Regions from separate parts of the Homo sapiens genome. Here all the other regions are linked to region 3. Evidence: promoter capture Hi-C in 16 types of primary human blood cells and fetal thymus (Javierre and others, 2016). All regions are on one chromosome and are shown on one strand. Each heading gives the region's core, a stretch centred on a gene start or on the middle of the fragment in contact. The rest is flanking DNA. Distances are from core to core; before and after follow the strand shown.

Evidence for each region. The method cuts DNA at HindIII sites, captures the fragments that hold promoters and counts their contacts. A CHiCAGO score of 5 or more calls a contact.
Region 1: a fragment that was not itself captured here is called in contact with the fragment with the promoter of EXOC5 in region 3 in 1 of 17 cell types (fetal thymus); the score reaches 11.4 in fetal thymus.
Region 2: a contact is called between a fragment that was not itself captured here and the fragment with the promoter of EXOC5 in region 3, in 1 of 17 cell types (fetal thymus). The highest score is 8.4, in fetal thymus.
Region 4: a fragment that was not itself captured here is called in contact with the fragment with the promoter of EXOC5 in region 3 in 1 of 17 cell types (non-activated CD4 T cells); the score reaches 6.3 in non-activated CD4 T cells.
Region 5: a contact is called between the fragment with the promoter of CDKN3 here and the fragment with the promoter of EXOC5 in region 3, in 6 of 17 cell types (naive CD4 T cells, non-activated CD4 T cells, monocytes and 3 more). The highest score is 17.3, in naive CD4 T cells.
Region 6: a contact is called between the fragment with the promoter of GCH1 here and the fragment with the promoter of EXOC5 in region 3, in 5 of 17 cell types (fetal thymus, total CD8 T cells, naive CD4 T cells and 2 more). The highest score is 8.7, in fetal thymus.
Region 7: a fragment that was not itself captured here is called in contact with the fragment with the promoter of EXOC5 in region 3 in 2 of 17 cell types (total CD4 T cells and fetal thymus); the score reaches 5.3 in total CD4 T cells.

Annotation. Positions count from the first base shown.
Region 1 is chr14:55,021,730-55,025,604 of GRCh38, reverse strand. All of the region lies in intron 2 of WDHD1 (WD repeat and HMG-box DNA binding protein 1), which reads left to right. Among named protein-coding and RNA genes, the nearest start is that of WDHD1, 3.4 kb to the left of the region's middle. The HindIII fragment of the contact is 768 bases long and covers 1,081-1,848 here.
Region 2 is chr14:55,044,020-55,047,846 of GRCh38, reverse strand. SOCS4 (suppressor of cytokine signaling 4) reads right to left here. Exons shown (of 3, transcript NM_199421.2): 3 at 1-3,827. The coding sequence ends at 3,483. Among named protein-coding and RNA genes, the nearest start is that of MAPK1IP1L, 5.7 kb to the left of the region's middle. The HindIII fragment of the contact is 270 bases long and covers 2,411-2,680 here.
Region 3 is chr14:57,267,043-57,270,761 of GRCh38, reverse strand. EXOC5 (exocyst complex component 5) reads left to right here and starts at 1,857. Exons shown (of 18, transcript NM_006544.4): 1 at 1,857-2,140. The coding sequence starts at 2,114. AP5M1 (adaptor related protein complex 5 subunit mu 1) reads right to left here and starts at 1,791. Exons shown (of 8, transcript NM_018229.4): 1 at 1,374-1,791. The coding sequence starts at 1,447. RefSeq lists enhancers at 1,627-1,826, 1,474-2,057 and a silencer at 2,367-2,426. The HindIII fragment of the contact is 4,317 bases long and covers 359-3,719 here.
Region 4 is chr14:54,504,011-54,507,859 of GRCh38, reverse strand. No RefSeq gene overlaps it. Among named protein-coding and RNA genes, the nearest start is that of CGRRF1, 4.0 kb to the left of the region's middle. The HindIII fragment of the contact is 4,344 bases long and covers 1-3,849 here.
Region 5 is chr14:54,394,637-54,398,863 of GRCh38, reverse strand. CDKN3 (cyclin dependent kinase inhibitor 3) reads right to left here and starts at 1,857. Exons shown (of 8, transcript NM_005192.4): 1 at 1,787-1,857. The coding sequence starts at 1,795. The HindIII fragment of the contact is 7,211 bases long and covers 1-2,168 here.
Region 6 is chr14:54,901,447-54,905,383 of GRCh38, reverse strand. It overlaps GCH1 (GTP cyclohydrolase 1), which reads left to right and starts at 2,558. Exons shown (of 6, transcript NM_000161.3): 1 at 2,558-3,063. The coding sequence starts at 2,721. RefSeq lists silencers at 2,204-2,843, 3,254-3,303, 3,314-3,373. The HindIII fragment of the contact is 1,914 bases long and covers 2,111-3,937 here.
Region 7 is chr14:54,434,131-54,438,258 of GRCh38, reverse strand. It overlaps CNIH1 (cornichon family member 1), which reads left to right. Exons shown (of 5, transcript NM_005776.3): 2 at 1,822-1,890. Among named protein-coding and RNA genes, the nearest start is that of CNIH1, 5.2 kb to the left of the region's middle. The HindIII fragment of the contact is 4,014 bases long and covers 1-3,742 here.

The sequences.
Region 1 (3,875 bases), core at 215-2,714, 2.2 Mb after region 3:
ATGTGATCAGGTTTGTTTTTGAGAAAATGCATGGAGGATGAATTGGAAAAGGAGCACTCATGGATGCAGAAAGACTGTTAGAAGATACCTGTATTAGTTTGTGTAGGGGCGGGTTGCCCCTCCACACTTGTGGGTGTTTCTCGTAAGGTGGAACGAGAGACTTAGGAAAGAAAAAGACACAGAGACTAAGTATAGAGAAAGAAATAAGGGGACCCGGGGAACCAGCGTTCAGCATATGGAGGATCCCGCCAGCCTCTGAGTTCCCTTAGTATTTATTCATCATTTGTGGGTGTTTCTCGAAGAGGGGGATGTGTCAGGGTCACAAGACAATTGTGGGGAGAGGGTCAGCAGACAAACACGTGAACAAAGGTCTTTGCATCATAGACAATGTAAAGGATTAAGCGCTGTGCTTTTAGATATGCATACACATAAACATCTCAATGCTTTACAAAGCAGTATTGCTGCCCGCAGGTCCCACCTCCAGCCCTAAGGCGGTTTTTCCCTATCTCAGTAGATGGAGCATACAATCGGGTTTTATACCGAGACATTCCATTGCCCAGGGACAGGCAGGAGACAGATGCCTTCCTCTTGTCTCAACTGCAAGAGGCATTCCTTCCTCTTTTACTAATCCTCCTCAGCACAGACCCTTTACGGGACGGTCAGGTCTTTCCCTTCCCACGAGGCCATATTTCAGACTATCACATGGGGAGAAACCTTGGACAATACCTGGCTTTCCTAGGCAGAGGTCCCTGCGGCCTTCCGCAGTTTTTGTGTCCCTGGGTACTTGAGATTAGGGAGTGGTGATGACTCTTAAGGAGCATGCTGCCTTCAAGCATCTGTTTAACAAAGCACATCTTGCACCGCCCTTAATCCATTTAACTCTGAGTTGACACAGCACACGTTTCAGAGAGCACGGGGTTGGGGGTAAGGTTATAGATTAACAGAATCTCAAGGCAGAAGAATTTTTCTTAGTACATAACAAAATGGAGTCTCTTATGTCTACTTCTTTCTACACAGACACAGTAACAATCTGATCTCTCTTGCTTTTCCCCACAAGTTTGGGTAAGTGTGATAGAAGCTTGGACTAGAGTAAACATGGGTGTGTAGAAAAGAGTAAACATTCAGGAAATATTTAAAAAGATAAAGTCAACAGGATGGATCAGATATTAAGGATGGAGAAAGAGGCAACAGGGATAACGTCTACATTTCTGAATGTTACGGTTGAGAAAGTGATGCTTCCACTTGCAAATAACAGGAACACTTGAAGAAGGGCGTATTTCAGAGGTAGAGCTGTGGGTGGAGATTGAGTTTGCGTTTGGATGTGATTATTGTAGGATTTCTTTGAGATATTCACCTAGAGGGATAAAGTAGACAGTTGGATAATTGTGTCTCAAGCTCAGAGAAAAATGTGAGCTAGAGATAGAAATATACAATTGACCCTTAACATGAATTTGAATTGTGTATGTCTACTTATACGTGGATTTTTTTCAATACACATATTAGAAAATTTTTGGCAGTTTCTAACAATTTGAAAAAACTAGCAGACGAACCATGTAGCCTAGAAATATGGAAAAATTAAGAAAAAGTATGTCATGAGTGCATAAAATCTATGTAGATACTAGCGTATTTTATCATTTACTACCATAAAATATACACAAATCTATTATAAAAAGTTGAAATGTACTAAAATTTACACACTCAAACATTTCCAGACCATCCGCAGTCAAGAGAAATGTAAACAAACATAAAGATGCAGTGTTAAATCGTCACTACATAAAATTAACTGTAGTATATACTGTATTACTGTAATAATTTCATAGCCACCTCCTGTTGCTATTTCGGTAAGCTTAAGTGTTGTATCTGCTTAAAACACTGTATGAGGTTGTATCTGCTTAAAACACTGTATGATGCTCATGAGCAGTTTGTCTCTCCAGTAAATTGCCTATCCCAGTAAAAAGACATCTCTGGTGATTCTCATATATTTTTCATCATGTTTAGTCCAATGCCGTAAACTTTGAATAACACCATGGGAATCATATGAAGTGCCACTAGTGATGCTGGACATACTCCTAAGAAGCAGACAAAAGTCATGACATTAAGAGAGAAAAGTTGAATTGCCTGATAATGTACTGTAGATTGAGGTCTGCAGTTGCGGTTGCTCACAATTTCAAGATAAATGAATCCAGTGTAAGGACCACTGTGAAAAGGAAATTTGAGACACTGTTACTGCAGCTATGCCAGCAGGCATGAAAACCTTGCACTTTTTGTGAAATAACTTTATCTTGTATTGAAAACGCAGCTTTTATGTGGGTATAGGATTGCAATAGAAAGGCATAGCTATAGACTCTAATGTGGTTCCAGAAAAAGTGAAGTCATTATCTGACAACTTAAAGTGAAAGGTAGGTGAAGGATCTAAAGCTGGAAAGTTTAATACCAGCAGAGGATAGTTTGATAATATCAGAAAGAGATTTGGCTTCGAAAATGTCAAGATGGCCGGGTGTGATGGCTCACACCTGTAATCCCAGCATTTTGGGAGGCCGAGGTGGGTGGATCACCTGAGGTCAGAGCATGCCCAACGTGTTGAAACCCTGTCTCTACTAAAAATGCAAAAAATTAGCCAGGCACAGTGGCAGGCACCTGTAATCCCAGCTACTCAGGAGGCTGAAGCAGGAGAATCACTTGAACCCGGGAGGTGGAGGTTGCAGTGAGCCAAGATTATGCCATTGCACTCCAGCCTGGGGATCAAGAGCGAAACTCCATCTCAAAAAAAAAAAAAAAAAGAAAGAGAAAGGGTCAAGATGGCAATAGAATCAGCTTCTGCTGACCAAGAGACAGCAGATTCCCAGACACCATTACGAAAATCATTGAGGAGAAAGGACATCTGCCTGAACAGGTTTTTTGTTTGTTTGTTTGTTTTGTTTTTTTGAGATGGAGTCTAGCTGTCTCACCGGCTGGAGTGCAGTGGCGCGATCTTAGCTCACTGCAACCTCCGCCTCCTGGGTTCAAGCGATTTTTCTACCTCAGCCTCCCGAGTAGCTGGGATTACAGGCATACACCACCACACACAGCTAATTTTTATATTTTTAGTAGAGACGGGGTTTTGCCATGTTGGCCAGGCTGGTGAACAGGTTTTTAATGTAGACTAAAGTGCCCTATTCTGTGGGGGGAAAAATGCCACAAAGAACATTTATTAGTAAGGAAGGAAAGTGAGCACTAAGATTTAAGGCAGGAAGGCTAACTCTAATGTTTGGTGCAAATACAATCAGATTTGTGATCAGAACTGCCATTATTTATAAAGCTACTAACCCCCGGGCCTTGAAGGGAAAAGATAAACTCCAGTCTCTTAGTTGTATAACAAAAAGACCTAGACAATGAGAACCTTCTTTTCTGGATTGGTTTCACTGATGCTTTGTGCCTGAAGTCAGAAAGTATCTTGCTAGTAAGGGACTGCCTTTAAAATTCTTTTAATGTTGGGCAATGCCCCTGGCCACCCAGAACACCATAAGTTCAATACTGAAGGTGTCAAACTGGTATACTTGCCCCCAAACACAATGTCTCGAATTCAACCTCTAGATGAGGAGTTCATACAGGCCTTTACGGGCTCATTACATAAACTAATCTATGGAAAGGATTGTCATTGCTATGGAAGAGAACCCCAGTAGAGAGAACATCCTAAAAGTCTGGAAGGATTATACCATTGAAGATGCCATCATTGTTATAGAAAAAGCTCTGAAGGCCATCGAGCCCGAAACAAATTCCTGCTGGAGAAAACTGTGTCCAGACGTTGTGCATGACTTAAGATTGACAGCAGAGCCAGTCAAGGAAATCATGAAGGAGATTGTGGGTATGGCAAAAAAGATAAGGGAGCGAAGTAA
Region 2 (3,827 bases), core at 1,296-3,795, 2.2 Mb after region 3:
AGCTGATAACTGGATTTATCTTCTTAATGGCTTTGGCTCATGAATAAATGATAATGGTTTATGTGTTTTTCTTATAAAAAGAAATGGAATTTGTATACCGATAGGAGTCCTACTTGCCACATTTGTTCTACTTATTAAGGGATTTCTAATTACTGAGACATTCTTTATATTATTTATAATAAGAAGTCAAAACTTTAACTGAAAGCCATTCTTTGACCACAGTTGGCCATTAGCTGAAATTCAGGAAATAGCACAGGTTTGATCACCAAATCAATAAATCTAGCCACAGGCTGACTAAAAGCTTCCTTTAATCTTCTTCCTATTAGGTCTTCCTTTAAATTAAACCATTCCCTTCATGAATTATTTAAGTGAATGGCATGGTTATAGAAAGATCACATATAACTCTATACAAAAATGCTAAAGGAACCTTAAAAAGTCCATTCAGCATACTTCAGGAATTATACTATGAATCAAGATGCTGTAGGCTTAGAAAAAAATGGGAGTGGGAGTATGTCCTGTAAAGCTTCAGAGAAAAATAGAAAAGTCAAGTTTATTTCCTGATTAGCCCAGGATGATTCCCAAAGCGCAGTTAAGTGTCTGGTCCAGACTAGCTATTAGCGATTAAGTAGTTTCTTTTCACTGTCAAGGCTTTTCCCTGAGGTAATGCCTAAATTCCTAATTTTAATATTTGATCTTATTTCTCTTAGCTCCATCCTCTCTCACCAATAAGCTCTCCACATTTCCACCATGCTAAATGCTTTCTCAACTCTGGAATTTACACTGTTCAAATCTTCCCTTTGTTCAACAGTTATAAAATTTTAGACAAATTTATACATTCCCACATTGTTCCTCTCAAAATTTACTCATTTATATAGTGCAATCAATATATTGTTTACATTTTATATAGGTTAGTTTCTGAATACTGTATGTTCTTCCAAATGTATCCTTACAAAGACACAGAGGAAGGGGGTAACCTTTCTGAATTCCAATTCCTTAATGTTTTAAAAAAAATTATTACTCTTTTCTTTTCCCTTAAACAATTCCCTTCTCAAGTCTTTATGTATCTACTTTCCAAACTTCTTTTCACTGTAGCAAATACCAAAGGAAAAATAAAAATCATTTCAGAGTCAATGAATCTCCTCCCTGCTCTCATTTATTAGATCAACTACTTCAAGGCTACATATGTGGCAGTACTTTTTAAGTGTTAACAGCTGTTAATACCTTGAAGTTGAAAAAATAAAAAAGCCAGAGAAAACATATCACAAGCAATCAGTTTGAATTATATGAAAAGGTACTTAGATCTTGACTTTCATATAAATACTAATTTTAACACTATAAAAGACAACATAACTATATATCATTTTTCTTTATAAAACTACCCCTTAACAGAATATTTGTAAGCTAGTCATCCCTTAGGTTTTTCTGTACTGATAAAAAGTTATTTTTAAAAGAAAAATATTTAAAATAATTGTTTCACAGAAACAGAAAATCTTATCAAATTCTGATAAAAAACTATAATCATGGGTACTCTTACCACACTATTTTCTTTCACCAAAGATGGATATTTAGGAAGTGGTATATTGGTTAATAAGATAAGCTTCTCAGTGATCTACAAAAGCGCCACAATAAAGATGAGGTAGTATGAGACTTTTCTAACCTTGTAAAAGGTAAATATCGTCTTTAGAAGAGATATTTATCCTGACATTGGTGTTATGATATCCGATATCCTGAGCCTCATCACTGCTAAGAGGTGCCATTTTTGTAGCTACATCTCATTGAGACTAAGACAATCTTGAGATCACTGAGGAAAAAAAAAATGCTAAAAGATAACGGTAATAGAGATTTTCCTTAATTTTGTAATAATTACTAAAAAATTATTTTAAAGCTATTATGGAAAAATGCCATTTTCATGTTAACAGAACTGCAAGATAGGGAAATGCTACTCACATAAAAGCAACAATAATGAAGAAATATTTGTTCTAACTTGGAAGTTTATGAGTCAAATTTCTTTCAATCTAGGTAGAAGCAGTTTCCTAATATAGCTAAACTAGCATCAAGAAATCAGTTACGATATTAAAAATGTCAATGTGTACAAAGGGTTAGACAGCTCACCAGAAGAAAATTGTCTATCTACATTTATTATTCATTGATTCCTTAAAAAAAGAAGATAGGATACCACTCCATTTATTTTTACTAGTTACTTTGGGCTAAAGATGTTTCTAAAAACGTTGCCCTGTTTCTGGGATAGTAAATTTAAAATATCACCCCTTTTGTCCAGTACTGTTCTGTATGGTGTAAGTCATGTAGCTGTCAAAAGGCTTTCTTTTTTTGAAGCCACATTACAGACTAAGTTAATTCTGAAGATAGGGATAATTATTTGGATCTTGTAGATCAAAAACAGTATTAAGCTTCCTGAATACTGAGCTCCATGTTTATTTCTGGAATCTTTATTCAAATTCAACTTAAAATAATGAAAAACTACTTAGGTACTCTTTGGTTACCAGTGGAAATTTGTGGCTGCTAATACATTGTGGAATTTCCCCAAAGTAACAGCTCAGAGTTTCTATAAAAGGGCTAAGTAGAAGCAACAGTTCATAAGCTAATACAGAAAAACCCCACAATTACTTTAGCACTTTAGTAACTACTAGCTACTAATAGTGTTATCATTATTTTCAAAGCTTCCAATGAGAAAGGAACAAGATTTATGTTTTGAAGATGGTTTAGCTCTTGCAGGTTGAGAGAAAGACCTATTCAGGAATGACAAATGATCCGGCCACATTGTAGAAGAGTAAGTGCACCTCCAGAATGATATGTTTCCATTTGATTCTCATTGACCAGATTAATCAAATTTAGTAATCCTGCTTTAGAGTTAATATTTAAAATAAAAATACACCAAGTTTGACTTGGTTTTGTTACTTTTAACATCCCTATTAGTAAGTTACAAAAGTCAATAACATTAGTATGAATGGTGAATTACAACATTCAGCTTTACTGAAGAATATCAAACTCAATGAAAAGGGGGACGGGGAACTATATTTTATATATAATACTACTAATGGCATAGATTAACAAAATATTTTACATGTAGGAAAGGACATAAGATTACTTTTAAAGAATAGTATGAAATACACAATATTCAAATGTGTTTGCAATGCCTACCAAATTTCAAATGTGCCTGGATCATGTATAAATTAAGGAAAAAGGATCATGTATAAATTAAGGAAAGAAAAAATGTAAGTATACAACCTACACGGTAAAAACAAAAACCAAACACCTGGTTAAAAATATCTATTTAAGCTCGAGTGTATAACCTTAAACAATTTGTGTATCACTAGAAAAATGGATTTATTAGTAAAATTTAGGGCAGAGATTTTATTTTGGACACCACTGCCTTTGTAGAAAAATCCAAAGTGGCATAAAAAGAAAAATAAAATATTAAAAGAAAAAATATATATTATCATTCCCATGTTCCCATCCTGTTACTAGCATTGCTGTTCTGGTGCATCAATCCTGAGTACTCTAACTTTTGATTTATAATGATATTCCTTCAGATATAATTTCATAGAAGAAGGAATTGGAAGGGCATCGATGCCATCATAAGTTGTACAGTTACAAATAACTGTTCTGCATATATGCTGCAGGGAAAAAGGGAAAGTCCGAATTAAGGGAGTGGATAGAAGTGGTTCAAAGAACATACAGGCGCTTGGGTCCTTATAATGTTCTAGGAGCCCAGTAATGTCAGGAGAATGGAAGACACAGGGGTCATGTGCATCAAAGCTAAAGTTGTGATTCCACTGTTCAATTCTAGCATGAAGAGAACGACTATA
Region 3 (3,719 bases), core at 608-3,107:
TTAAGAGTTATCTGTCAGTGGGAAGGGAACGGCAGTTAGAAATAGGTAACCAAAGGGAATATAAGTAAAATGAGAGATACTTTGTACGGACTGATGCGCCTGGTAAAACCACGTACTAAAGAATATTATTAATCTCCTGTATTTGAGGTCCAACAACAAATGTTGGGGTTAGTGTCAGCCAGAAATCCTGGGGGGAAATGGTAAACTCCAACTCTGATGCCCTCAGGAACAAAAACTGTTAAGGTTGCAAAGAAGGAATTTTTCATATCCCCATTGCCAACCAATTTTCATTTAAAATTAAAATCTTTTTTTTCTGCCTCAATCTCAATTCTACTATGGTACTACTTCACTATAAGCTTTCTTCAGGGAAGAACGAATTGTGACAAAAAAGAACTATCAATGGCCAGAGAATAAAAGGTGAAATAGACCCACTCGATTGCCACCAACATTTTACAATGAGTTACTGTACAATTCCCTTAACAGAGCTATTTTGATTACACAGGGCAAATTCTAATAGTGGGACCAGATCAACTTAACACAATATATGAAATAGTGAATACATTTTTTTGTGTTTCTATTTTCTTCAACAATTAGGAACTGTAAACTGATGATTTCTACCATTGACACATATTAACAAGATAAAAATAAAAGCCTGGGCGGGGCGCGGTGGCTCCTGCCTGTAATCCCAGCACTTTGAGAGCCAAGGCGGGCGGATCACGAGGTCAGGAGATCAAGACTATCCTGGCTAACACGGTGAAACCCCCTCTCTACCAAAAATACAAAAAATTAGCCGGGCGTGGTGGCGGGTGCCTGTAGTCCCAGCTACTCGGGAGGCTGAGGCAGGAGAACGGCATGAACCCGGGAGGCGGAGCTTGCAGTGAGCGGAGATCGCACCACTGCACTCTAGCCTGGGGAACAGAGCGAGACTCCGTCTCAAAAAAATAAAAACAAAAAAATAAAAGTCTGATATAACTTAGCATGGATTTTTCAGTAGAATAAGTTAAAATGTTCTGGAACGATTTTGTCAATGCATGTTGAAAAATCTGAAAATGTTTAGTGCTCAGTAAATTTTCTACCGTTCCCTTAGTCATCTCCATTTTAATTCTAAGCAGACGGAGGTCATTTTAAAACACAATACTAATAGAAAACATATACCGTAAATAATATGTACCAGTCATCAACTCAATTCTCACAACACTGTAAGGTAGGACTATTAAAATCTCCATTTAACAGACGAAACAGAGGTCTGTTAACTGGCTAGCCCAAGGTCACGCAGCTATTCGTGGCAAACCTGGGCCACGAAGCACCACAAAACTATGCTACTTCATCGATCTTCTGATCCATCATCCCTGAGGATTCAGATTTGCATTTACCTGGAGAATCTCACGGTGCCACAAAGTGGAGTTCCCGGTTCGTGGCTTATGAGCCACACTGCCCGCTGCGCCATGGTTAAGTCAGTAAAGCATTAGCTCATCTCATAATTAAGGTCGCCACCGAGGAACAGCGCAGACCGGCTTTCTCAGACAGACTCTTAACAGAAGCCCTGAGGCTCATCCTGCGCCGCATACCGGTCGCGCTCAGCAGAGAGGTTAGCTTTTTTAGGTGAAGTCACTAACGCTTCTGAGTCGCTCTAGGCCAACACACACCACAAAAAGTTCTAAGAACCCCAACCTATAACCTTGAGAAATTTACCTATACCCTGCAACTCCGGTATTTTCTTCCTCTAAATTCTACTTCCGGAATGGTGGCCCGCAAGGATCAAAGTTCCTCATACACGGTAGCGTCGAGCCTTTTTTCGGTTCTTTCGCCGCTCGTTTTATTCGCCGGCCCCTCCCGACAACCTCCCTGGCGCGCGCAGTTCCACTTCCGGCGTATGAGGCGGTGACAATGGGAGCAGCGCGGGCGGCGCCGGGAGGCAGCTGACAAGCGTTTGCGGCTTCGCTTCATGGCCGCTCTCCCGCCCCTCCTGGGATCTGTGGGGAGCTGGGGAGCCCGCAGCGGCCCGGAGCCGGAGCTGGCGAGCCGAGCGGAGACCTGTGCGCCGCGCCTCTGAGGCGCAGCATGTGAAGCGGAGACGGCATCCAGTGGGGGGCGAGCCTCTCAGCCGGCCGGGATGGCTACCACGGCCGAGCTCTTCGAGGTGGGCCCCGGCGGCTCTACAGGGAGTGGCAGGCCCGGGGTTTGCAGGCAGCTGGGTGGGCGGGCCGAGGAGCGGGCGTTTGCTGGCTGCCCAGGAGGAGCCCTCGGGAGAGAGGTGCGAAACAGAAGGGTTGGGGTGGCAGCTCCGTGTCAGCGCGGGCGGAGCGTGAAATGGGGGAGGGGTGCTTGGGGCCGAGGTGGGCTGGGCGGCCGGTCGGCAGAGAGGGGAAGCCGGGTGTCCCAAGGGAGGAGGGTTGCTTTTGTTTGTGGGGGCAAGAGGGAAAGTCTGGAAGGTTCGGGTGTTGGAAGATGTCTACTCCGGATGAGTAGTGGGAAGGGCTGACTCAGGACGAGGAAAGAGAGCCAGGAGCCTCAGGTTGGGCGAGTCTTGTCGCTGGGGTCCTCGCGGGAATAATAGGAGGAAGCCACTTGAGATCGGGACTCTTGGGGGCTTCTCGTTTTGAGTAATTATTCCATTAGTAAGGTTGCAGGTGGCATTCATAGGACTGCCAGTTTAACCTGACATTTGAAAAGGCTGGGACAATTTTTTTTTTTTTGGACAATAAAGGCCTACTTATCTCTTTCGACTGAAGAGAGATAGACTGAAGGGAGGCAAAATTCAAGTGAACACTTTATTTCATGTAATACATAATAATACACTCGAGGCATTTACGTGTATTATAAAATAAAAAAAGTTTATAAAATAAAACGAACACTTCGTTTCATGTATATAATGCACCTTAAGTGTATTATATGCATTTACATGTATTATAAAATCACCTAACTGCAAGCTAGAGAATCCTTAATATGTAATAGTGAGAATACTAATGTCTTTCCTCGAGCGTTTACAGTATCTAAACCTTAAAATTTAATTTCGTGAAGTCCGTTGTAAGAAGCTGTGATAAAAGTTTGAGATAATAGAATAGGAAAACTCTAATTAGGCTACAAAACAATGACACGTATAAAGCATCTCCTTGTGTGAAAGAAATGAAAACGGATAAGAAAAAGGAAAGAAAGACCCCTTTTTTGTGTGTGTGCTTGTGTTTCACATTGAGTAACAAAAGTGTAATAATTGAGAAGACTGTAATCCACAATAGGGAACTTCTCCATAAGTGAAAATGGTATCCTTTTTCTGCGTAAGATTCAGCAGTTTTTGTGGCTTACAATTTGAATGCCACAGTTTTAATAACAAATGGAAATTTACATTTGTTATTGTTACTATATTTTGCATATCAGTCAGCTTTTGGATAGATAATGCTTTTTTTGAGAGGAGTAATATATGTTATTGTTATAATAAGTTGTAATAAGACAGTAATTTGTGAATGAAGGATTGTAATTACAAGAAAGACTTCAGAGATATTGTATTTTCTCACTTAAGTGTTGGGAGATATGCTACATTAATTTCTGTAATTCCAAAATTGTGCCATCTGTTTATTGACACAAGAACGGGGAGACATTTTTCCTGCTAGGAACTTTTACTGTGTCCCTAGGTACTAAGTAGTGCTGTGGTTCCTTGTTTTATTTTTCACATCTTAAAAAGGGAGAAAACGATGAAGTTGTATGAGATCTTTAATTAAGGT
Region 4 (3,849 bases), core at 629-3,128, 2.8 Mb after region 3:
TTAACTGGGCGAGGCAGAAGGATTGCTTGAGCAAGGGAGGTTGAGGCTGCAGTGAGCCACGATTGTGCCGCTACACTCCAGCCTGGGTGACACAGCAAGACGCTGTCTCAAAAAAAAAAAAAAAAAAAGCAAAGCAAGAACCTGTCTCAAAAAAGAAGAAAAAGAAAGAAGCCCCACCCTACTATTAGACGGGGTAAAAAGAGAAGACAATGTGAGCTTAAATTTATCAATAAAAAGTATCTTAGGCCGGGCATGGTGGCTCACGTCTGTAATCCCAGCACTTTGAGAGGCTGAGGTGGGCAGATAACTGAGGTCAGGAGTTTGAGACCAGCCTGGCCAACATGGCAAAACCCCATCTCTACTAAAAATACAAAAATTAGCCCAGCATGATGGCGGGCACCTGTAATCCCAGCTACTCAGGAGGCTGAGGCAGGAGAATTGCTTGAACCCGGGAGGTGGAGGTTGCAGTGGGCTGAAATTGTGTCACTGCACTCCAGCCTGGGCGACAGAATAAGATTCCGGCAAAAAAAAAAAAAAAAAAAAAGTATCTTAGACTCTTCAAGTTTAATTGCACCTTTTAGGAAGCTGGTCTCCTTTAGGAAAATGTTTAGTCTCTCCTCTCTCTTCTCTTGATTCTTCCCAAGACAGTATCTGATTGTACAAGGTGTTCATATGACCTGATGGTGGAGGTCAGGAAAATGAGACCTCAGCTCTGCATGACACCTGTAGGTCCTCACTAAGGGGAAGCGGGTTTCATCTGGCTTTTTGTGGTACCAGGCCAGCCCTCACTGCGGAGATCCAGGGTTCCAGCCATTTACCTCTGGTTGTAAAACCCTCATAAGCTATGGCTCCTTAGCTCCACTAGCTCACCAGACTGCTTACCATCTCCAATGTTACTTACTGGGGCAATATGTAAACATGTAGATTCTCACATATGTCACATGCAGGCTACTGAGAAGCAGCAGTTATCTCAGGATGCCCAATCAGGCTACCTCTGCCACTGAATGCCATTGCTCTAGCACCATGGTGAAGGTGGTGTGAAGCAAGCCAAATGTAAGGCCTCTCCTCCTTTCCTAGAGGGAAAGTGGACTACCAGCTCCGATCTCTTCAGTTTCTCCAGTACCCCACCTATTTGTTTTTTAATTTTTTTTTTTTTTTTTTTTTGGAGACAGAGTCTCATTCTGTCGCCCAGGCTGGCGTGCAGTGGAGCAATCTTGGCTCACTGCAACCTCCACCTTCTGGGTTCAAGAGATTCTCCTGCCTCAGCCTCCCGAGTAGCTGGGACTACAGGCACCCGCCATCATGCCTGGCTAATTTTTGTATTTTTAGTAGAAACGGGGTTTCACCACATTGACCAGGCTAGTCTTAAACTACTGACCTCAGTGATCTGCCCGCCTTGGCCTCCCAAAGTGCTGGGATTACAGGCGTGAGCCACTGCACCCAGCCCCAATACCCCACCTATTTGGGTGCTTCCGCTACAACCACCTGCTTCCCTGAGATTCCAGCCTGGAGGGATGTGGGGACAAAACTGTCTTTATTTTATTTTAATTTTTGAGACAGGGTCTTGCTCTTTCACCCAGGCTGGAATACAGTGGCATGATCACAGCTCACTGCAGCCTCAACATTCTGAGCTCAAGTGATTCTCCTGCCACTGCCTCTCAAAGTGCTGGGATTACTTACTCTTTATGTAGAAACATCGCTGGAAAAGATGGTCCCGATGCAGACCCTAAGAGCAGGTTCTTGGATCTCGTGTAGGAAAGATTTTGAGGCGAGTCAGAGAGAACAGTGAAATAAGCAAGTTTATTGGAAACTACTCTGTTACAAAGTAGGAGTCTTCAGCAGGAGAAGGAACATTCCATTCTTTTTTAGTGCCTCTATACTTATAAGAAACTAAAAGGAGCAATATTAAACTTGGAACATGCAGATGTGCTCACTAAAGGTAGGGGCTATTGGTGTTACAGGTGACCATTAATCAATCCTTCAACCCAAGCCTCTTAGTTAATGGTATCTTTAAGCAAAGTGGGCTGCACTCTTAGGACATCTGGGCATTCTGAAGGCTTGGTGGGAGATGCTCTGTATGGTTATAAATACTCTGCATTTATAAGTGGTGGTCAGCTTGAGATGTGACTATTTTCGACCAGAAGTATTAACCTTATAAGCCTTGTGAGTGCTTAGTTACTCACTCAAGATGGAGTCCCTCTGTTCATGCATTATTAAACCAGAGGCCTGAAAAGCAGGGGTTTCTCTAACAGGAACATCTATTCATTTTAAGTTTCCTCCAAAACAACCCTTGTTGTTACAGAAATCATAGGCTCTCCTCTGACACCCATAGCCACCTACACATTCCTTCCAGAGCACATATGCTCTTTTCCCAAGATATAAGCCCTGGGTCTGGGGTGTTGTAGTGCGAAGATCTAATTGTCTTGCGGCTGCCCAAGACAACATTTCTGTCTGTAAGTTTCCCTAATAAATCACATAAAACCAACAAACTGGATTTGTCTGCCTCCTTCTTTGGTTTCTCTGCTCCTTCAGCTTTTTATGGCCTTTTCACGGAACAAGGCGGAAGCCAGAACGGGTGGATATGATGCTGCACCTGCTCTAGCCCTTTCTCCTCTCCACACTCCAGCAGATCACAAGCAGAAGACTTTCCTACCCTCCTACTTGGCAGGTACTTTCCTTATGTCATAGCCTCACTTTCCCTGCCGTATGGCATACATTAAATACCACTCTTACTGTTGCCAAGGTCTTGATTTTGAAATGTTAACTGAACTTTAAAAGTTTATAAAGCCTTTATTTCTTGGTAGTGTCAGGCTTTTTCAAGATGACTGTGTTTCTTGAGATTCAAACATCTTATTTTAGAAGTCAAAAGCTGCTTTTTTTTTTTTTTTTTTTTTTGAGACAGAGTCTTGCTCTGTCGCCCAGGCTGGAGTGCAGTGGCATGATCTCAGCTCACTGCAACCTCTGCCTCCTGGGTTCAAGTGATTCTCCTCCCTCAGCCTCCCAAGTAGCTGGGATTACAGGTGCCCACCACCACATCCAGATAATTTTTGTATTTTTAGTGGAGACGGGGTTTCACCATATTGACCAGGCTGGTCTCGATCTCCTAACCTTGTGATCTGCCCGCCCCGGTCTCCCAAAGTGCTGGGATTACAGTCACGAACCACCGCACCCAGCCTAGCTTTTTCTTTTTAATTTCTGACATCACAGTTCTATTTATCCTTTGATGCTGATAGATGCTTCTGACTGACCAAGGAGAAGGTCCCATAAGAGAAATGCAAAAAATATATATATATATTTTGAGACGGAGTCTCACTCTGTCACCCAGGCTGGAGTGCAGTGGTATGATCTTGGCTCACCACAACCTCCGCCTCCCAGGTTCAAGCGATTCTCCTTCCTCAGCCTCCCAAGTAGCTGGGACTACAGGTGCAAGCTACCACGTTCAGCTAATTTTTGTATTTTTAGTTGAGGTGGAGTTTCACCATGTTGGCCAGGCTGGTCTCAAACTCCTGACCTCAGGTGATCCATTCGCCTTGGCCTCCCAAAGTGCTGGGATTAAAGGTGTGAGCCACCGAGCCTGGCCAAGAAATGCAAAAATATTAACATGTTTTTGAAAGTTATAATCTCCCTTATGTTATTTGCCTTGGAGCTGCCAACCCTTTCATTCATATTGTCTTTCTATAGTCCACATTCTTTCCTGGAAGGTCAGAAGGTCAGATCTCAATTTGGAAATATAAATAGGTAGGAATATAAATAATAAGGGTCCTAAATTTGAGTTTCAAACATGAGAAACTGGCAAATGGAACTGAATGTGCAATTTTGATATGACATCATAGATAACAGGAATTGTGA
Region 5 (4,227 bases), core at 608-3,107, 2.9 Mb after region 3:
ATCCCCACATGGCCTAGTAGTTTGGTGGGGGTGGTGTAGGTGAAATAACCTGCCTCCAACTTTATGAATCACTAGACTAGAGAGATTGAGATAGACTTCGTATGCTGATCTAAGCAGTTGGAACTTAATCCTGCAGCATTTTGACATGGAAGACTTCTACACTCCTTGTTGAAATTTTAAGGAATCAAAAGAAAAAGAAAAACAAAAACAAAACAGAACAAAACCCATACCCTTTTCTCACTCCCTAGTTGAAACCAATTGAAAGATAAAGAAATGGAGTTTTATTATTGTATATCAAATGGAGTATGCAGCTTAAAGCTGTTGCCACGTGGGCTTGCCCCTTGTTCACCCCAGAATTAGACAAATGTATCCACCCAGTCACAGGTGGCCATGGACAGTCTGGGGCTCCTGTGTGCCAGAGAGTGGACCAGAAAGCACCTTCTGCAGGCAGGCAGGTAGATCCCAAGAAAGAAGGAAAGAAAAAGTTGAGATACTGGTGTTCAGTTCCTTCCAAACTCGGGGATCAGATAACTCAATGGGGACAGGTGGAGAAAGAGGCCAGGAGTGAAGGACAGCTGATGTCCCTCCACATGGCAACATAGGGATTAGCAATTGTAAGCACCTAATGCTCTTTCTAGCTCTGAAGCTATATTCTACAACGGTCTTGGTACTAGAAGATCACAGGACGGCTAATTTAGGCTACGGACTTTTTTTTCTTTCTTTCTTTTATCTTGAGATAGGGTTTTGCTCTGTCGCCCAGGCTGGAGGGCAGTGGCGTGATATCCGCTCACTGCAACCTCTGCCTCTTGGGTTCAAGCTATTTGCGTGGCTCAGCCTCCCGAGTAGCTGGGACTACAGGCGTGCACTACCACGCTCAGCTAATGTTTGTATTTTTAGTAGAGACGGGGTTTCACCGTGTTGGCTAGGCTTGTCTCCAACTCCTGGCCTCAAGTGATCCGCCCGCCTTGGCCTCCCAAAGTGTTGGGATTACAGGCGCGAGACACCACCCGGCCCTAGGCTATGGATTTCTGTTGCTTTGGCTCTATCTGAAGTATTATAATCAACTGCACCCAAAGGAAAGGCTTCCAGTAGGTTGTCAAGCCGGGCAGTAGGAAATATGGGTTAGGTGGGGGATCTTCAGCTCCTTGCCTGCATCTGTTTTTTCTTTAAAGCAACTTTGATGATTCATATTTCAAATTTGTGTGGCCCATTCACCAGGTTTATTAATCCTAACAGAGCTGGACGTTTCTGCTTCCCCAGGCCCTGTGATTCTGAACGTCACGGGAAAAGAGCAGCATTGCCAGGTGGCCCTGGGGCATGGTGACAGCGGTGGTGTCGCCCACAAGCCGCGGCGTGGCATTCGTACTCAAGGTTTCCCCAGGCCCTGTGGGCGCAGGTAGCGCCCGGCCACCCTTCGGGGCTGGGGTATCGCGCCCACTCATCGCTGACACTCAAGCTCTTCGGCTCGGTTTCCTCGGTACAACGAGGCTCGGCCCTCTTTGGCTGGGCGGCTGGGAGGCTTATGAGACCCCGCAGGGGACAGGTGACAGCCCACAGCAGGTGCACAGCGAATGTCCGTCTTTCCTTCGTCGGCCACCGACCCTGCTCCTTCGTCTCTCGTGCCCGTGCTGGGCCCGTGCGAGTCACCTCCCCGACCCGCAGAACGGTTACGGCGCCAGTCGCACTGCTACCAGGCTAGGGCTGCCCTCCGGCCCAGGATCGGGTCCCCGGGACCGCTTGCGTCCCTGCCGCCTCGCTCCTCCAAACCCCAGCACGTCCGACTCACCGGCTTCATCGCTGGCCGCCCCACGTCGAGACCAGTGCCGCCTCCCTCTGCAGCGCCGGCGACTCACCGGTGCCCCGGCCGAGCCCGCGCCCCGCAGCTTAGCTCACTGGTTCGTCCTTCTGTGAGGTGGGCGCGGCGTCTTCCAGCAACCAATCAGATCCGCTTCTGGTTTCTTACTCCGCCTTTGGGTGGCCGAAGACTCGGCCTCTAATCGCTGACTGGTTCCTAGAAGACCTTTGAAAGACGCGCGGGAGGCGGGCCCTGTGGGACGTTGATTGGCTGGGAGGGCGCCCTCCTCCCGCCAGTTGGGAGAGTGCAGGGGGCGGAGGCGGGGCGGAAGAGTCAGAAGGCGGCCCTAGCGCTTGGGGGACGCTGGAAAGCTTTGCTTCTTGATGGCAGGATGTCAGCGTGGTCCATACGGTTGGGAGGTGATTTTTTTTTTTTTCTTGAGACGGAGTTCGCTCTTGTTGCCCAGGCTGGAGTGCAATGGCGCGATCTCGGCTCACCGCCACCTCCGCCTCCCGGATTCAAGCGAGTCTCCGCCTCACCCTCCCGAGTAGCTGGGATTACAAGGATGTGCCACCAAGCCTGACTAATTTTTGTATTTTTTGTAGAGACGGGGTTTCTCCATGTTGGTCAGGCTGGTCTCGAACCCGGGTTGGGAGTTTTTGTGTTTGTGACGGAAGTCTTACTATGTTGCCCAGGCTGGCCTCGAACTCCTGTCCTCAAGCAATCCTCCCGCCTTAGCCTCCCTTGTAGCGGCTACGGTAGGGAGTTTTTGTTTCTTTAAGTTGTATTTTTATTTTTTATTTTTTAAGGGCTCAGGGAAGCACTGTATTGGATCGTCACATGAAAAACATCACATAGACTTTGTAATTATATCTAGACATACAAATACTAGGGAAAAAACTAAAAATTTAGAGTATAAACATATTTTATATGCTTGAAGTTTTAGTTTATCGTTCCAGAAACTAGACAAGTTACAGTGTAGATCAATATTCCTGTCCCCCAAATATGAATTAAATTATATTGTGTGAAAGGGAAATTATAAAATGCCAGGTAAGATAGGTCTAAGGGCCAGTGTGTCTACATAATTAGCTGTAATCTTTTAAAAATGTGAGTATTTCTCCGCCTTCTCCAGTCCCCATTTAACTAGCCATGGGAAAGGAAGTCGCCTGGAGCAGATCTGAGAAAAATATGCAGAAATTTCAACCCCTGATTCATGTTGTGAAAGCCAATGGGTATAGAGCTATTAGAAGGAATTCCTTAGTAAAGAAGGTACCACAGTTTGATTTAGAGACTGTATTAGCTAGTCATGGTTGCCCAGAGATAAAGAATGAATAGGATGTGTATATATGGATATAGAAACAGATTTATTTTAAGGAATTGGCTCCTGTGCTTGTGGAAGCTTGGAGAGTCCAAAATCTGATGGGGGGAGGCCAGTGCGCTGGAGACTCAGGAAAGGCTGTACTTCGAGTCCAAAAGCTGTTGTAGAACAAAGAAGAGCCAATATTGCATGTAAAGTCTGAAGGCTGTCTACTGGCAGAATTACCCCTTGCACAGGGCAGGGTCAGCCTTTTGTTGTATTCAGCTCGTCAACTGATTGGATGAGGCCCATCCATATTATGGATGGCAGTCTGCTTTACTCAACGTTTCCCAATTTAATGCAAATCTCATCCAAAAACACTTTCACAGAAACATCCAGAATAATGTTTGTCCAAATAACTGGGCACCATGGCCCAGTCAAGCTGATGCACAAAATTAACCATCCTAGACACCCACAGAGATTTTCCATACTCGGGAAATCCTTTTAGATCTGTGCTGTTCAATATGGTGACCATATTGGCTGATTATCTCAGGCCAAATTAGAAAACAAAATCAAATCAAAGGCCAAATTAGAAAACAAAATTTTTGTGTGAACTCAAGGGCTACTTGGGAAATACTGCTCTCTTTTAATATAGATCTGCTTCCTCAGATGAAGGCCTTAGTAGGGTTAAGGAACAGACCACACCCACCACGTATTTATAGCTATTGTTTTGATATGTAGGTTTCCATTTCATATTAGAAACGGCCATGGTACTGTGTACAAGAGAATGTAGGTGGGTATGCATGTCTAGACGTAGAATCCCGCCTTTGGTCAAATAATGAACCCGTATTTAGGTGCACCTATCGACAGGTGACAACGTGCTAGCAGCCCTCACTCGCTCTCAGTGCCTCCTCGGCCTTGGCGTCCACTCTAGCCACGCTTCGGGAGCCCTTCGGCCCGCCGCTGCACTGTGGGAGCCCCTCTGTGTGCTGGCAGAGACCAGAGCTGGCTCCCTCTGCTTGCGGGGCAGTGTGGAGAGAGAGGGAGGCGCGGGCGGGAACCGAGGCTGCGCGCAGCCCTTGAGGGCCAGCGCGAGTTCTGGGTGGGCGCGAGCTGGGTGGGCTCCGCACTCGTA
Region 6 (3,937 bases), core at 1,309-3,808, 2.4 Mb after region 3:
TTAAAAAATTCCTTGGCTTTTTGGTAGAAAGAAACTCCCAGACTGGGTCCAAGCTGAAAATGAATCCCTTACTGGGTGAAAAACATGGATGCGGTAACAATTCCTGGCTGTAAATGCTCATAATATTACTGTTGAACCATTTTATGCTAATAAATTATCTGGGACCTACTTCCCTTTTGGTTTATTCCTCTTTTTTTCTCCTGTTGCTACTTATAACCATCCTTGTCAACTATCTACATTTTACTATTAAATTATTCATATAATGTTGGTGATTTCAAAGTTTTCTTGTATTATTTTTGGGCATTTGGCCGAAAGGCACTGCCTCCATTTTACAAGTTAGCATGTATCCAGAGGCCCTGTCCTGCAACAAAGGTGCAGGTGCCTCAGTGGCAATACGTGTAAGAAAATGTTAATTTTTAGGGTAAAAATTTCATTAGAAACTGTCTTTGTGGAATACAATATTAGTTAATCTTTACACATGTTTTTAAAGGAAGACGAAAGATTGCCACTAAAAATAAATTCGTACTGAAAGCATCTCTATCTACTCTCTCCATTTTTAAAGTACCTCACTTAGTATCTTTGTTTTCATTTGTTAAATGCAAGGTCATCCTTTGAATGTTGTCTTCAACTATGCTTGAAATAGCTTGAGACCCAGCAGATAATTCTGACCAGGAGGTATCAGCAGACAGTGGGCAGCACAGTTAGAGGAAAAAAATGTTGCAGGGCCCCACTCCCAATAAAAACCTACAATAAAAAATTTAAAAATTTTAATAAAGAGGAAAATGACAAAGAGGTTTTCCAAAGGATGTTCATATTCTCTATTTAAAAACCCCACTGGGCCGGGTACGGTGGCTCAGGCCTATAATCCTGAGCCCTGGAGTTCGAGACCAGCTTTGGCAACATGGTGAAACCTTATCTCTACCAAAAATACAAAAATTAGCCAGTCTCATAACCCGCTCTTAAATAAATAGATTAAAATTTAAAAATAAATAAATAAATAAATAAATAAATAAATAAATAACCCCACTGATATGAACATTTCTTCCATTTTGGAGTAAAGGTGCCTACAAGGCTAGGCAATGTCCATATTTCTTTCCTGAATGTTTCCAACGGGGCTGCGCCTAGAGCAGATGTATCATAAATACTAATTACTTATTATAATGACCAAGCTACATTGTTAGCATAGAATAATTCCACAGGCTTCCCTATTGGTTTGTTTGATCCTAAGCCTATTAATACCTGCTTCTATGTCAGAAAATCTACATTAGGCCAGGCATGGTGGCTCACACCTGTAATCCCAGCACTTTGGGAGGCCGAGGCAGGTGGATCACCTGAGGTCAGGAGTTCGAGACCAGCCTGGCCAACATGGCAAAACCCCACCTCTCCTAAAAATACAAAAATTTAGCCGGGCATGGTGGCAGGTGCCTGTAATCCCAGCTACTCAGGAGGCTGAGGCAGGAGAATCGTTTGAACCCAGGAGGCGGAGGATGAAGTGAGCCTCAAAAAAAAAAAAAGAAAAAAAATATTATTTTGATACATGTTTTAAAGCTCACCTTCGGCATTATGAGATAATCCCTCAAGTGAGGAAAAAGGTCCATTTATTAATCTCAAAGAAAACAGTTACAGCAGATGTCACTGGTTAAGAGTTCAGTTGGTGAATAGCATTTCACAATTTGTACCAACATCTGGGGAAAGACGCTTTGCATGGAACTGTAAAACAATTGAGCACCAAATCTGCACAACTGCGTTTCTAGAAAATGCGATGGGTTTTATAGAGATGAGGTCTTGCTATGTTTTCCAGGCTGGTCTCGAACTCTTGGCCTCAAGCGATCCTCCCGCCTCGGTCTCCCCAAGCGCCGGGAGTACAGGCGTGAGCCACCGACGGAAATGGATTTTAAGTGAAAGTCCTATCTTCGTTTGCAAATCAATTTTTCCAGGATCAAAGTTCTAGCAACCATAAATCCTATCCTTCTAGACATAGGGACCCACATAAGGGCCACTTGATGTGACACTTGCCCCGACAGCGGTGCCACCTGGCCCCTAGGTGGCAGGTGCGTTTTTAACTAAACCCAAGAGTCTGAAGTCACATTATTCTCTTGCCTTGAAAGCTTAAGAGTTGGTTCCTAATCGGTGGCTTAACTCGGTCTCTCTCCAGGCAAGGCCACCTGTTTGCTGATCTTTCACAGGGCGAGGGGACCGGAGCCCTTCAATGCAGCGCCCTCTTGGCCTGAAGAGGGGGCGACTGGGCGCCCAGACCGCGTCTTTCTCACTGAGATCCCAGCTCCTGGACGACTGCCTCTTTTCGGGTTCGGCTCATTCCGCAATAAGTGGAGGGGTCCCGCCTGATCCTAGGGGCCGGCGCCCTTTTCCTTCCCTCCCTGCGCTTGCGAACCCCTCCGGGCGTCTCCGGAGCCGCGACCCCTGCTGGGGACCCCGGGGGCGGGAGGCCGAGGGGCGCGGCGAGGGCCGTGACGCGAGGCGGGGCCGGCCAATGGGAGCGCTCCGCGGCGCAGGCTGAGCCGCCGGGCCATAAAAAGGAGGCGCGGCCGGGCTTTCCAGCCTGTGGCCGCTCCCGGCTCGGAGTGTGATCTAAGCAGGTTGCGTACCTTCCTCAGGTGACTCCGGCCACAGCCCATTGTCCGCGGCCACCGGCGGAGTTTAGCCGCAGACCTCGAAGCGCCCCGGGGTCCTTCCCGAACGGCAGCGGCTGCGGCGGGTCCATGGAGAAGGGCCCTGTGCGGGCACCGGCGGAGAAGCCGCGGGGCGCCAGGTGCAGCAATGGGTTCCCCGAGCGGGATCCGCCGCGGCCCGGGCCCAGCAGGCCGGCGGAGAAGCCCCCGCGGCCCGAGGCCAAGAGCGCGCAGCCCGCGGACGGCTGGAAGGGCGAGCGGCCCCGCAGCGAGGAGGATAACGAGCTGAACCTCCCTAACCTGGCAGCCGCCTACTCGTCCATCCTGAGCTCGCTGGGCGAGAACCCCCAGCGGCAAGGGCTGCTCAAGACGCCCTGGAGGGCGGCCTCGGCCATGCAGTTCTTCACCAAGGGCTACCAGGAGACCATCTCAGGTCAGTGCGCCCGCGGGCTGCTAGAGCGTGCGGGCGGCGGGGGCGGTGCTTGCAGGAAACGCGCGCCGGCTCCAGGAAGTTTCCGGAGTTGCCTCACTTTTGGCGCAGGAAGCCGGGCGCTGTCACCTCCGAACCCGCCCTAGCCTGCCGCCCTGCCGAGGCCCTGCGTGGGGCACAGTCGGGGCTTCCTGGGTGGCAGCGACCTCTCAGCCCCGGAACTCGCTGCAGCCGCCTTCCAGGGGCCCTTCCCGCTCCCAGCGCGCAGCCCTCCTAGAACGCCCCGGGTGGGCGTGGACGGGAGCCCGGAGCCCTCTCGCCTGAGCGCCCAGCGCGGGATTCTCGGGGTACCTGCGGTTCCAAACTTGCCCACGATAAGGATCACCTGGGCACTTGCTGCGGCGACGGCTTCCTGGGTAGTTCCTTATTGAGATCCCATTGTCAGGGTGTGTATCTGGATTGAAGCCTCGGCGCGATCCTTCCCCGAAACCTCGGGGACCTGCATTCCCACTGATTTGCCAGGGGATCGGAGTCTTAGAGTTGTGCTTTTTTTTTTGTCCACCTCAAGTTTACTCCAGTTCAGGACATTTACAAAATTCGGCACAATTTTGGGCACGGGCTTCCCCGGAGTTTGAGGTGTGAGGTTGATTGGGTGAGTTTGCTGCTGAAATCTGTTTCCTCCCCCCACCCCCAACCCCGCAAAAAGCAGTAAAGCTACTCCGGGATTCGGAGGGCTCCGTGGGTTCCAGGACTCAGTCTCATCCCCGCACCCTCCCACCCTAAAATAAAGCCGGGTTGACCCGGTGCTGTTAGCGTCTGAGGCGTGTCGGCTTTTCACCCAGAGGGTGGGGATGCAATCAGTGTGGGTAGGATGCAA
Region 7 (4,128 bases), core at 486-2,985, 2.8 Mb after region 3:
CCTGTAATCCCAGCACTTTGGGAGGCCAAGGCAGGTGGATCACCTGAGCTCAGGAGTTTGAGACCAGCCTGGGCAACATGGTAAAATCCCATCTCTACAAAAACTACAAAAATTAGCCAGGCATGGTGGCATGCACCTGTAGTCCCAGCTACTCCGGAGGCTGAGGCAGGAGAATCATTTGAGCCGAGGAGGTGGAGGTTGCAGTGAGCCGAGATTGTGCCACTGCACTCCAGCCTGGGTGACAGAGTAAGACCCTGTCTCAAGAAAAAAAAAAAAAAAACCCTTGAAGTCACCTGGAGAAAATGTCCAATTAAATGTCAGTTTTAAAGACAAGTTTTGTATTCTGTTAAGTTGGATCTTGTTATAGACAAGTACTTATGATTATCATCCTTGTCTTGAGCTTTATTACTAAAATGCATTGGGGTTATATACCACGGCTGACGTCAAGTAGCAGACTAATAACGTCCATAAGTAATCAGAAATTAGTATTTTCTAATTACACATGTATGTTTTTAACATTTGTGTTAGGTGTCATTAGCCAAGGGAAATCCCCCTGGTGAGTTCTGCATTTTTTTTTTTTAATCCCTAGTGCTATTTTTTTCACCCCCTCCTTCCAGTTAATATTTATTGAACACTTAACTATGTGCCAGGCACTATTTTATATTTTAGGCCCTGGGACATAATAGTAAATACAACAATCTTTGTTCTTTCAGAGATTACATTCTAATGTTTTATTATTTTCCTTCTATTGTTGTTTGGTTGGAGTTTTTATTAGGGCAGGTGGGTGAATTTTATGGAACTCTAGAAATTAAAAAAACCGTCTTTTTATGAATCTAAATTTTAACAGGGAAATAAACAGTCATGTTAAAAGATGGAAATATGTAACTTTACTGATTACTGATAATATTGAGCAACACTTTCACATATAAAGATACTATTCCTAACTCATTAAGGGAAGGGTAGCTTAGTTTGTGTGTCCCTGGGGTGAGTAGTGTTAGCAACTAAAATGGCTCCCCCATCAACTTGCTGCCTTTGTTTTCTTTCTTTGTCACCTGAAATGATGCCACAAAGTGGTGCAGAGTCCCTATTTTGACTCTTAATGTACATTCTAGTGACCCTTGAGGTTGAAGCCACATTCCTCCAGAGTGTGGACAAAAGCATCCTTACAAATGTATGTGTTTGGGCACCAATGGGAACACATTGAAGAGTTCGAATCCATCTCTAGTGTCCCACTGAGCACTGTGCCAAGGGAGGAGGAGCATGCACAGATAAATAAAAATGGTCCTTCTCCCTGAGAGTGTAGAGGGGCAGACAGACCTGTGTGTAAATACCACACTCCAGGGTGAGAAAAGCCATATCGATGGCATTATAGAGTCCCATGCTGTGTGGAGATGTGGGCAATTACTTCTGCCCAAAGGAGTTAGGAAAGCCTGCAGAAAGAAGTTGACCTAGGAAGGTTTGTTTTTTTTTTAGGATAAAGAGGAATTTGGATAAACAGTTGAAATTATTTTTCTACTCAGAAGATTATTTCGAGTAGAGATAAGTTGAAATAACTTGAGCAGAGGCATTGACGAAATTGAAAATTGAAGGTATTTATTACAGTAATACCAAATTTTAGTGATACTGAGATAAGAGTGTTTTCACTTTAAATCGCATTCTGGTTCTTTTTGTCATATATGAGTTTACTGTAAATTGGTATTTGGGATCTTGGTGTACTTTTGTTCTTGTTTTATTAACTTTAATAATTATTTGAAGATGGGGCAGGTTTGTTGCTGCTTTTAATTAAAGTGAGTGGTCCTAACTGTTTTAATTTTATTTTAGATTATAGCATTTGATGAGCTGAAGACTGATTACAAGAATCCTATAGACCAGTGTAATACCCTGAATCCCGTAAGTTATAATATAGGATTTATCTTTAGATTTTAAAAATATGTTTGTTTTTAACTTGAAGTAATTTGAAAATGGCCAGTATTCTGAGTAGCATAATATATTTGTACTTTTTGAAGTAGGCAGAATTTAAAAAATCTTCTTTTTCCTGTCGTGCTTGACTATTCTATTATTAATCTGCTGGTGATCTTGTCAGCTGTCATACTAACATTCTTCCAATCTGCTTTTTACATTGTCGGCCAAAGACAGTTGAAAAGGTCAAAAAGATTAAAAGAGTCAAAATTGCATTAAAGGTGTGTACTGCTTTTTAGTTAAATGTTTTAATGCTATATTCATTTCATGGGGAGGGTTAGGGCATTTGTATTTGTAACGTTTTGTTCAGTGTGCTCGTTCATATGCCTGTTGAGGTTTATGATTTCATGAAATTTCATATTTTATGCAAATATATGCTTGCTGGCCCAGTCAAGTAGGGAAAGCTGTTAAATGCGTATGCGTTTTTTTATGTTATAGCCATAGGCACTTCTATGTGAAATTATTTGGTGTAGTACTTGAAAGTTGGTTAACATAAAATGACTAATAGATGGTGAGATGATTCTCGGGTTGTGACTTATTGTGAGGTAGTATGTGAGTGAAATCTTTAGTATGGACTTATCTGCCATATCTAGTTTTATCTTTGGTTTGCATATTCTGGAATAAATGAGTCATTCTTTCAGCTGATGTTTATTCAGAGCCTGTTAGGTGGATAGCTCTGTTCTGGGGGCTCTGGGATCTCGCAGCAATGCCATTCTTTGGACTTAGGGTGCCATAATTTTGTAGATAACAATTTGTATACAAATGTCTATGTGGTTATTTCTAGTGTGTATCTACTTTCTGTTTCTAAAACAGGCCTGAATTACACTGAGTTCTGAGCCATCATGAATTTAGTGATAATGTAGCTCCATTGTGCTTAGGGTTTTTGAAAAAATATATATGTATGTATTTTTAAATTTTCTTTTGAGATGGGGGTGTCTCTATATTGCCCAGGCTCTTATCAAACTCCTGGGTCAAGTGATCGTCCTGCCTCAATCTCCTGGGTAGCTGGGATTACAGGCACACACCAGGGTACCCAGTTTGTTTTTTTGTATTTTTGCCTGCATTTAGGAAGATACTCTTTTAGCCTGTGTATTTGATTTTGCCTGACTGGTCAGTAATTGAAAGGTTGGTTGTTTATAAGAAAGCAGTGGGTATGTCTTCAAGAAATAAAATACAGTAATTCAGCTTTAAAAATTACTTAACGAAGGGGAGAGTTTGTGTAGATTTTAATTGTCTAGCATACTAGTGTACTAGCACTAGGTGCTAGAGGGATTTTATTTGGAAAAGCATCTAGAAAGTTAGTTTGGTACTTTATTATTGTTTCCCAGATAAATGTGGATGGTGGAAGAGATTTCTAGTTTGTCTTTAGAGAACTGTTACAGTAAGAGTTGATGTAGGTACAATTAAAAGTATTAACTTATTAGCTGTTTCTTTGCTCTTATGAAACAAGACATAAGAAGATGAATTTGCCTTCTCTTGGAAAGCATTAAGTGTTAATTTTAAAACATCTTAACCTAAGTAGTTGAAGTTGTTACCAGGAAATGAAGAAACTGAAATTTCCCCTTTTGATAGCTGTTTATTAATAGTATTCTGTGCTGTTTGTCTTTTCATTACTTCAATAACCAAATGATGATGAAGGTAAAAATATTTGAAATCAGATGAGGATTTTCCTGGGTGCTAGGCTCTGTGGTAAGCACTTTGCCTGAATTTTTAAATTTAATTCTCATGACAATCCTGAGGTAGGTAAATTGTTATCTCATGAATAGGAGAGTAAACTGAAGCTTTGCCAGGTTAAAGCACTTTGCCGAATGTTATACAGCTAAGATAGAGTCAGAACTTGAACTCAAGACAGCCTAATTTTTGAAGCTCAAGTTCTTGTATTTTCCTAATGTATTGTAAATTTAGGAGGGACAGGTTTCATTTTAACAGGTAATGTGCGATTCCTGGCTTTTCTTAACGGAAAGAAATTCTCACTGAGAAGAGACATGTGCTTGGGACATCCTAATGCTGCAGGAGGTTGAAGGACGTTTTTATAGCAGCACAGGTTGCCTTTTGGATAGGGTGCCAATAATTGGCTGAATAGCAGTGCATCTGACAGTTTTCCCTATTTAAATTTGTTTTGACAGTTCTGCCAAAGTATGGGGGAAGACAAATATCACTATTTTTTAA